3 separate regions of the Homo sapiens genome follow, and all the other regions are linked to region 3. Evidence: promoter capture Hi-C in 16 types of primary human blood cells and fetal thymus (Javierre and others, 2016). All regions are on one chromosome and are shown on one strand. Each heading gives the region's core, a stretch centred on a gene start or on the middle of the fragment in contact. The rest is flanking DNA. Distances are from core to core; before and after follow the strand shown. Region 1 holds the start of KLHL8 (kelch like family member 8). Region 2 has its middle 6.3 kb from the start of PKD2. Region 3 holds the start of TIGD2 (tigger transposable element derived 2).

The links. The method cuts DNA at HindIII sites, captures the fragments that hold promoters and counts their contacts. A CHiCAGO score of 5 or more calls a contact.
Region 1: a contact is called between the fragment with the promoter of KLHL8 here and the fragment with the promoter of TIGD2 in region 3, in 3 of 17 cell types (non-activated CD4 T cells, naive CD4 T cells and naive CD8 T cells). The highest score is 7.0, in non-activated CD4 T cells.
Region 2: a fragment that was not itself captured here is called in contact with the fragment with the promoter of TIGD2 in region 3 in 1 of 17 cell types (total CD8 T cells); the score reaches 5.1 in total CD8 T cells.

What each region holds. Positions count from the first base shown.
Region 1 is chr4:87,219,314-87,222,013 of GRCh38, reverse strand. It overlaps KLHL8 (kelch like family member 8), which reads left to right and starts at 1,396. Exons shown (of 10, transcript NM_020803.5): 1 at 1,396-1,596. RefSeq lists silencers at 1,177-1,666, 2,007-2,276 and an enhancer at 1,782-2,394. The HindIII fragment of the contact is 8,812 bases long and covers 1-2,700 here.
Region 2 is chr4:88,000,002-88,002,701 of GRCh38, reverse strand. It overlaps the pseudogene RNU1-36P. Among named protein-coding and RNA genes, the nearest start is that of PKD2, 6.3 kb to the left of the region's middle. The HindIII fragment of the contact is 161 bases long and covers 1,225-1,385 here.
Region 3 is chr4:89,110,171-89,112,870 of GRCh38, reverse strand. TIGD2 (tigger transposable element derived 2) reads right to left here and starts at 1,338. Exons shown (of 2, transcript NM_145715.3): 1 at 988-1,338; 2 at 1-804. RefSeq lists a silencer at 1,081-1,530 and enhancers at 1,611-1,690, 1,721-1,830. The HindIII fragment of the contact is 10,355 bases long and covers 1-2,700 here.

The sequences.
Region 1 (2,700 bases), core at 147-2,646, 1.9 Mb after region 3:
TGAAGCTGCTTCCTCAGTTCAGCGCGGCAAAGCACCATATTTTGGGGTATCGATTTCTGAGTCCCAACAATTTTTACATCACGTTCCAGACACATTTTATGACTTTTCTTCACTGCATACTTCTTTAAAACTCATCTTACTCTATTTTTCTAAAGGTATTTGCATTAAATGTGCAAAATACTAATGCTCTAAAGAGGAATATTTTGAAATATTAAGAATTATTTATATTTCAATGTAAAAAATGTGATTTTTTTTCTAGAAATAAAATTTCAAATTCAAATAGTTGCTTTGGGGTTTTTATAGAAGATGCATATATATATACAGATATATATATGTTCATTTCTATTAAAATCAATGTGCTAATGTTCATATGTGTTAATATTAATAAAGGTCCTAGGATTAAATTTATTCTGAAATAGACTCCTAGGATTGTGAAAGTTTGAGGTTAGTCTGGCAAAAGACACATTTAGGGGAATATCTTTCTTTAAAAAAAATTTTGTTTTTTTGCTGTCTCTTGATCTCCCGCCTCACACATTCCACTTTATTGACATTATAGAAAAATTAATTCATTTCAACAGCACTTTTACTTGCATTGCTTTTTTTTTTTTTTTTTTTTTTTTTAGACGGAGTCTTGCTCTGTCGCCAGGCTGGAGTGCAATGGCACAATCTCAGCTCACTGCAACCTCCGACTCCCGGGTTCAAGCAATTCTCCTGCCTCAGCCTTGCGAATAGCTGGGATTGGTGGCACGCACAACCACGCCCAGCTAATTTTTGTATTTTTAGTACAGACGGAGTTTCACCATGTTGGCCAGGATGGTCTCGACTCCTGACCTCGTGATGCGCCCGCCTCAGCCTCCCAAAGTGCTGGGATTACAGGCGTGAGCCACCGCGCATGGCCACTTGCACTGCTTTTTAGCAGCGAGCTCTCAGGTCAATCAACTGCTTCCTTAGGTTTACAAACTGTGGGTGTGTATTTATAAACACAGTTGTTTTGTATATCCTTTGTAGAGCACGTGGTGAAAGTGACACAGGAATAAATGCAAACCTTTTTTTCCCCTTCTTTTTTCAAAGACATAAATCCCAGGAACACTCACAACCGCAGAAGGGGATTTGATGGACATACAAAGAAACTAAATTTTGTACCGCCGCAGAAGTGAAGCATGGATAAGCTCAAAGGTATTTAGGCAGTGTTTTATTTCAAGATTTGTTATGGGGACCTCCGCCACGCCCTGGTCCGCCTTCACCAGGCCGGGCAACACTGCCCAGTCCCTGAGACCCGGCCGCCCACTAGGGAGCCGCGGGGGCGAGGCCGTGGGGGTGGCCTCGGGGAGGAGGTCCCGAGAACCACACTTCCCAGAGTGCCGTGCGCAGCCCCGCCCAGCCCGCCCCGCCCCCAGAGGCCGCGGCTCGCGGGGGCTGAGGCGAGAGGACGCCAAGCGCCCGCCGGGGCTCCGCGGGGCCGCGCAGGAGAGCGCGCGTCCGCCGGGTGCTCGCGCGGGGTTGGTGAGGTTCCGCTGAGGGCGGCCGGGGCTCTGGGAGCGTGGTAACGTGGCTGCAACCTTAGCGACATCAGGAAGAACAGGGTCGAGGATCGAGGTAACGGGACGCTCGTCTCCCCTCAGTCCCCTCGTCTCCCCTCAGTCCCCTCTTCCTTTGTGCGGTGCCGTCCGCTCGCGCCGAGCCCTCCCTCACCCCAGCCCCCAAGTCGCAACACCGTCCCGTCTTGGGTCTCCGGTGTGCGGAGGAAATTCGAGCCCTCGTGCACCAACCGAAACTCCACAGCTGAGAGGGCTTGGGGCCCGGACAGCAGGAGATCCAGCCCCTGAGCAACCTTCCACGGCTTTTGTCGCCCCCATTGGCGGGAGGAGCAGGGTTATGCTCCCGGCTCCCGTAGGGGAGCTCCAGCCTCTGGCTCTGTCAGCCTCCCCGGCAGCTCCTTGACTCCTTCCTCCCAGTCTTTCGAAGAGGGGCCCAGGCAGGTGCTTCGCGGGGTCCAGGAAGAGGGCAGGCGCGGTGCGGCTGGCGCGGGTTCGGGGCCCCGGGAGGGCGGCCGGACGCCCCCTGGAGCCGCGGCCTGCGGGGGCGGGGCGAGTGGGCCACCTCCGGGCCACGCCGCGCGGGGACGAGGCGAGGAAGGCACTGCCTGTCCCCACTCGGGGGGCTTGCTGGCCGCCCTGGAGGTGCCTTCCCGGGAGCGGCGGTGTAGACCTTGTGGAGAGTGCCTCCTGATGTGGAACCAGGAACCGCAGCCTCTTTCTAGACGCTCAGCCGCCCGGTGGAGTTGTTACCGCCACGATGACAGCTCTTTACGCCTTCCACTCCGTGCTGGGTTCAGTTGGCTTGCTGTTTTCTTCAGAGAGAGCGATTTGGCTACATAGCTTGAATTTTCTACGTGTCTCGTGCTTTACTGGACTTGCACTGTTTTTCCCTCTTGGCAGTGTTTAATCGGGTGACTTTTCATAGAAAACGTTCAGTATTTTCATCTGTGTTAATGGCATAACTTTCTTCTTGACTCTGCCCTAAGCTAATGTTACCAGTTTAGAGGGATACTTTGGGAAAAGGTCCTTAGAACCTGGGTTGACATAAGTATTTTATCTGCTGGTTGCACGTTTTTTCCTTTGCATTGTTTTTCTCCTATACAAGATGGTAATTGTTGGACTCTTGGTGTTCTTTATTCTCTCTCTAGAAGGAAATCCTCTT
Region 2 (2,700 bases), core at 56-2,555, 1.1 Mb after region 3:
GTTATCTTGGCACCATAATTGGCTGGCACCGTGATCTTGATGACCTAATCTCTCTATCTCAATTTCCTTCTCTGGATAATGAGGTTAAATACCCATCTTATAAATCCCCCACAGAATTTTTGTTGAGGACTAATGAAGGAATATTAATAAGTTTATAAAACATGTATTGAGTGTCCGCTACATGCCAGTCACTGTGTTGCATTCCAGAGTGACAAAGATAAGACATGATTCCTACCTTCAATGAGATCAAATCTTATAGTTAAACTGCCTGGAAACATCCATAGATCATTCTCAACTTCTCTACCCATAAAAACTTAGGAATTTTTCTAGACTCAGACTTCATCTCTCCCTGGAACCTTCCATAGACACAATCTTGGCCCCCAGCATGAATTGACATGCCTCTCTACCCTGTAAACCTTTATTCCAACATTTGCCACCTTATACTGAAAATATCTGTTCACATAGACGTCTTCGTGAGTGGCACATAAGCTCCTGGAGAGCAGGGACCCTGGCTTATTAGCAGCTCAGCAGCCAGTCTGTTTTCTAGTGCAAGTTTTCTTGGGGACACCCCCACCTACCCACCCCTGCTGCCATTCTTAGCCTATATGTGTCTCAGGTGTGGCAGACACCACTGCTAGCTCCCAAGTGGTGATTGTGGAGCTCAGGCTTGCCCAATCAGCATCACGTCTCCTTGGCCCCTGTGAATGGTATTTCACAAGTATGTTATCCTGTTGTGTTAAAAAAAAAAATTAGGCCAGAAATTTTTTTCCAGTTGTTGGAAAAGAAAAGCTTTTCTTCCCACCAGATTTAGAGTTTTAAAGATGTAAGTCCAGACAAGCTGGCAGCCAAAATGTTGATGCTCAGGGGAAAAATGGCGCCAACAATGGAGATACAAAAAATATTTATAATGTGGATACTGGAAGAATACTAAAATTGAACTAATGTTTGGGTGGCCATGCTATTCAAGAACATTATGAAATACATTTTTATTGTGTGCCATCTCCTGGTTTTGTCAGATGCAGATTATGATATTTATTATCTATATTTTTATCCAAGTTCAAAAGAATTTTGAACAAATTGGGGCCAAGAACAGAGTTCTTTGAAATACTGTGTGCAGCTCTTCTCTTCATCAACTCTAGTTTATTCACTAGTACTGTTTGGGTATAGTTGTATTTTAAAAAAACTTTAAATCCAATTTTCACTAGCCCAGATTTTTCCAAAGCTTATCACAATTTTTTTTCAAATACCTTTTGATGCCAACATGAATGAGGCTTCCAGCATTCCCAGATCTACCAGACTTTGCAGAGTACCTGTTTTATGTCCCCTTCGTACAATCTTAGATATGATTAGGATGCTAAAGAAGTTGTTTATGCCTGCAAGAAGCTTGTAACTAGCTTGCTATACATGGATAAAACATTTAACCAATAAGAGCTTTATGACATTCTTCTGGGAAGTTTTTTTTGTTTTGTTTTATTTTAAATAAAGATTCTGGAGTCTAACTTCTAGGGATTCTGATTCATTATGTCTCAGCTAGGTCCTAGGAATCTGTATTTTAAGAGAGTAGATCAAAGAGACAGAGAAAGACTAGGTTCTCAGGACATCATTTGAACCCCTGAGTTAGAACTAATTGAAGCTAGATCCACCCCTGGACTCCATGAGCCAAAAAATATCCTTTTAAAAAATTAAAAAAATTATTTCAACTTTACCCTTGCCCCTTTCCCTCCCTCCCTCCTCTTGTATTCCCCACTGTCTATTGTTGCCATCTTTATCCATGGGCACCCAAAGGTTAGCTCCCACTTATAAGTGAGAACATGTGGTATTTGGCTTTCAGTTACTATGTTAATTTGTTTAGGTTAATGGCCTCCAGCTGCATCCATGTTGCTGCACAGGACATGATTTTATTCTTTTTCATAGCTTCATAGTATTTCATAGTGTATAGTACCATGTTTTAAAAAATCCAATCCATCATTGATGGGCACCTAGATTGACTCTATGTCTTTGCTATTATGAATAGTGCTGCAATGAATATACAGGTACACATGTCTTTGTAATATTATTTACAGCATTCCCATCAGCAATAAATAAGAGTTCTTTTTCCACATCCTCAACAGCAGTAGCATTATCAGTGTTTTGGATTTTGGCCATTCAAATGGGCGGGCAATTGGATCTCGTTGTTTTAATTTGCAATTCCTTATTGACATATATGTGGAGCATCTTTTCATATGCTCAGTTGCCATCTGTATATCTTCTTTGGTAAGGTGTCTGTTCAGGTTGTTGGCTCATTTTTTCCTTTTATTTACTGGGGAAAAGCATGAATGCAGTATGCTGCTACCACAAATTACGCAGTTGAGTTTCCCACATTTGGAGAAATCACAGGGATCAGCAAGTCTTCAGTGGAATAGAGAAGCCTTGCCCTAGGGAAAACTACCCTTGTGGTCATGGTATCTACCCTGCCTGGTAAGTCTTTTGGGCCTATTTTTCAATCGGGTGGCTTATTTTCTTGTTGAACTTTAAGGGTTCTTTGTATATTTTGAATCACAATCCTTTATCAGATAGGTCTTTTGCAAATATTTTCTTTCAGTCTGTGGCTTATCTTCAATTTTTTTTTTTTTTTTGAAATTTTATATTAAGATAACTTTTTATTCAATAGATCAATAACATTCAGTGTTAATAAATATAGGCAATAGGTATTCTCATCTA
Region 3 (2,700 bases), core at 89-2,588:
CTTCTAGGGCCTAGATGGATAGTGACCAATTTCCTGACAAGGTCTACGTGAATCTACTTGCTATTTTAAAACTTACAAACTTCCTACAACAAAGCCTAGCGCCAATTAACTCTTATCTTCTATCTTTCTTCCTCCTCAGGGTTCAGGGTCTTTCATGAAGTGCAATCACACTAGAGGCTAGAAACTGTACTGGTAAGGCTTCTAAAACAGTACTATTGCATACTCAATTCTTGCCATCCTTGCAGGTAATGTTCTTTGCCAGAATAGCCACTAAATCTCAGGTGGAAGTATTTTAGGAAATGTGCTAGGGAGTAAACAGTTTAAGTCAAGAGAGGACTTGCAAACTTGACATACAGGAAAATACAATGGGAAAACTCACCCTCTGACTATGTGGTCTTTGTCAAGCAGTGGATTGTATGGAATGCTGTCTCTCTAGGCACGGACTCTGCTATAGGTTGCGCAAGTGAGTGCTTGTGGAAATCATACGCAAGAGAAGATGACCCGGACAGAAGTGAACAGTGCAAATAAGGTGAAAGTGGAACAGGCAGAAAACTCTACTTTAAAAGCGACTTAAACCTACTAGATTTGGCAGCTGGAAAGGAGGATAGTGGACATGTGATGTCACATTACTAAAGAAAGCATCAAAAAAACTGCATCGGTGGAAATGAGGACCCAAGGTAGAGGCTATGGGGTGGCAGGCTCGGTGAAGATGATGTTACAATAATCCTGGTGAAAGACGATCCTCGATGGACCAACAGAAGCAGTTCCTGTGGGGGCTGTAGAGATACTCGGAGGCTCCGAAACCTAAAGGAAAATACCAAAAACATTTTCTTTCAATTCAACATCAGGATCTGTGGCATTATCCACATTTATCCTGCAACTATGTTGAGAAAATTAACGCCTCCTATCAATGTGATAGCTAAATACGACAAATAATGCTTTCAGGCATAATCTGGGGTGACAGAGAGAGGGACCTGAAGAGCCTACCTCCTGAAATTAAGAGGTCAGGGAGAAGCCGTGTTAGCGAGGGCCTCTCCCCGCTGGGCGAGCTTCAGAGCGCGGGACGTCTTTCCTCCCGCGGAGGGAGCCCGGATTCCGCCTGGACGCCGGCGACCAGGATGTCACTGCTGCAGCCAGCCAGCCAGCGGGCGGCCGCTTGGCACAGGGAACGCCAGTCCGCCGGCCCCGGGCATCGCCCTGGGACCGCCTGCGCGGCGCCCAGACCACACTAAGCGCAAATGGAGTCTCCTGAGGCAGGCTGGCACTGGTGGCCCGGCAGCGGCGAGGGACGAGCGGAGAGGGACGAGCGTCGCCGCCGGAGCCGGAAGGCGGGGGATTAGAGAGCACGCGCGCGCCCCCGCAGAACGTTGTGCCGGCGAGGGGGCGGGGCCTGCGCGGGTGAGCGCACGCGGCCCGGGGGAGGGGACTCCGGCGAGCGGGCGGGAGGGGCGGGGGCCCGGCAGGGGTGCGTCTCTAGGCGCTGCGTGGGTTCCACTCACCGCCTGGCCGTTTCGGGGCCGCAGTGCCTCCCTGGCCGGCAGGGGGAGGCACACGCTCGCCTTGTCCTGGCGCTTTTCCCAGTGGCCCGGCTCTGCCGACGAGGCTCTTTTCTCCCTAGGGGGAAATTTTAAAATCTCACCCCCCCAGTGCTGGGGGGAAAGCGGAGGATCCTCGCGTGCCGGGAGCGGGCTGCGAATGGGGCAGGGCGAGCGCACGTGGGGCGTGTTTACAAACAGCAGCCGCGCCGCCTTGCGGAGGCGGTCCAGGTGTCGGAGCCCAGAGTCAGCGCGCGTGGAAAGTGCTAGCCCGAGCGAGGATCATGAGGCACGGTAGGAGCCGGCGGACGTGGGTTCCGGGCAGGAGCTGGGGCGTTCGCTCGGCAACACCCAGCCGGACAAGCCCAGGGTGCCGAGGCGCGGCGGGCTGCGGTAGAGCCGAGTGTCGGGTCAGCGCTCCCCGGTGCTGATGCTCCGAAACTCGTCACAGTCGCTGTAGAGACGGACCCTTTGCAAAATCGACAGCACCTGGGAGACCCTTGAGCCAGTGGGAGGCGTCGTGGTAAATTTCCTGCCGTGCCTCGACGCCCGGGGCTTCTCAAGTGGAATCGGGGAATTGCGCTTTGACTGATACTCCCTTTATTTGTTTCCAACGGAGACATCTGCGGAAGGGTCACCGCCTTCCTGGAGGAGAGAGTGGTGCACCTCCACCTTGCACCACCTGTTTCCTGGGAAACGCGGTCAGGCTGCCTTCCTTTCCGTCTTGTGTGTGCGTGTCAGTTTGAAAAATTGGAAATTCTTCAGTGAATTATCTCTTCCATATGAACATAAATGTAACCTTTTCGTTAACACAAAGTAACATAGTAATTCGTCATTTCTTTGACAAGGCCATATACTGTTTCTGGAATTTCAGAAACTTGGAGATGGAAATCAAAGCGAGCATACTGTAGAAAACAGATGTTGATTCTAAGCCTTCTGTTTGACTCCGCCGCCAAAACTGCTCAATTGCCTTTCTCAACATAGCAGCCTTCCACTATCTGGCATGACAGAAATTCTTTGATCTAGTTATGTTGTGAGGTTGTAAGTGGCTTTTGGAGAATACCTGCTTTTAGACCTCCCCTCTTCCCTGCCTTCCATTTGGCTTCCAACAAGCCAGTCCCTTTCTGGAAGTCCTGGTTGCCTGTTTTGGGTACATTATAACTTA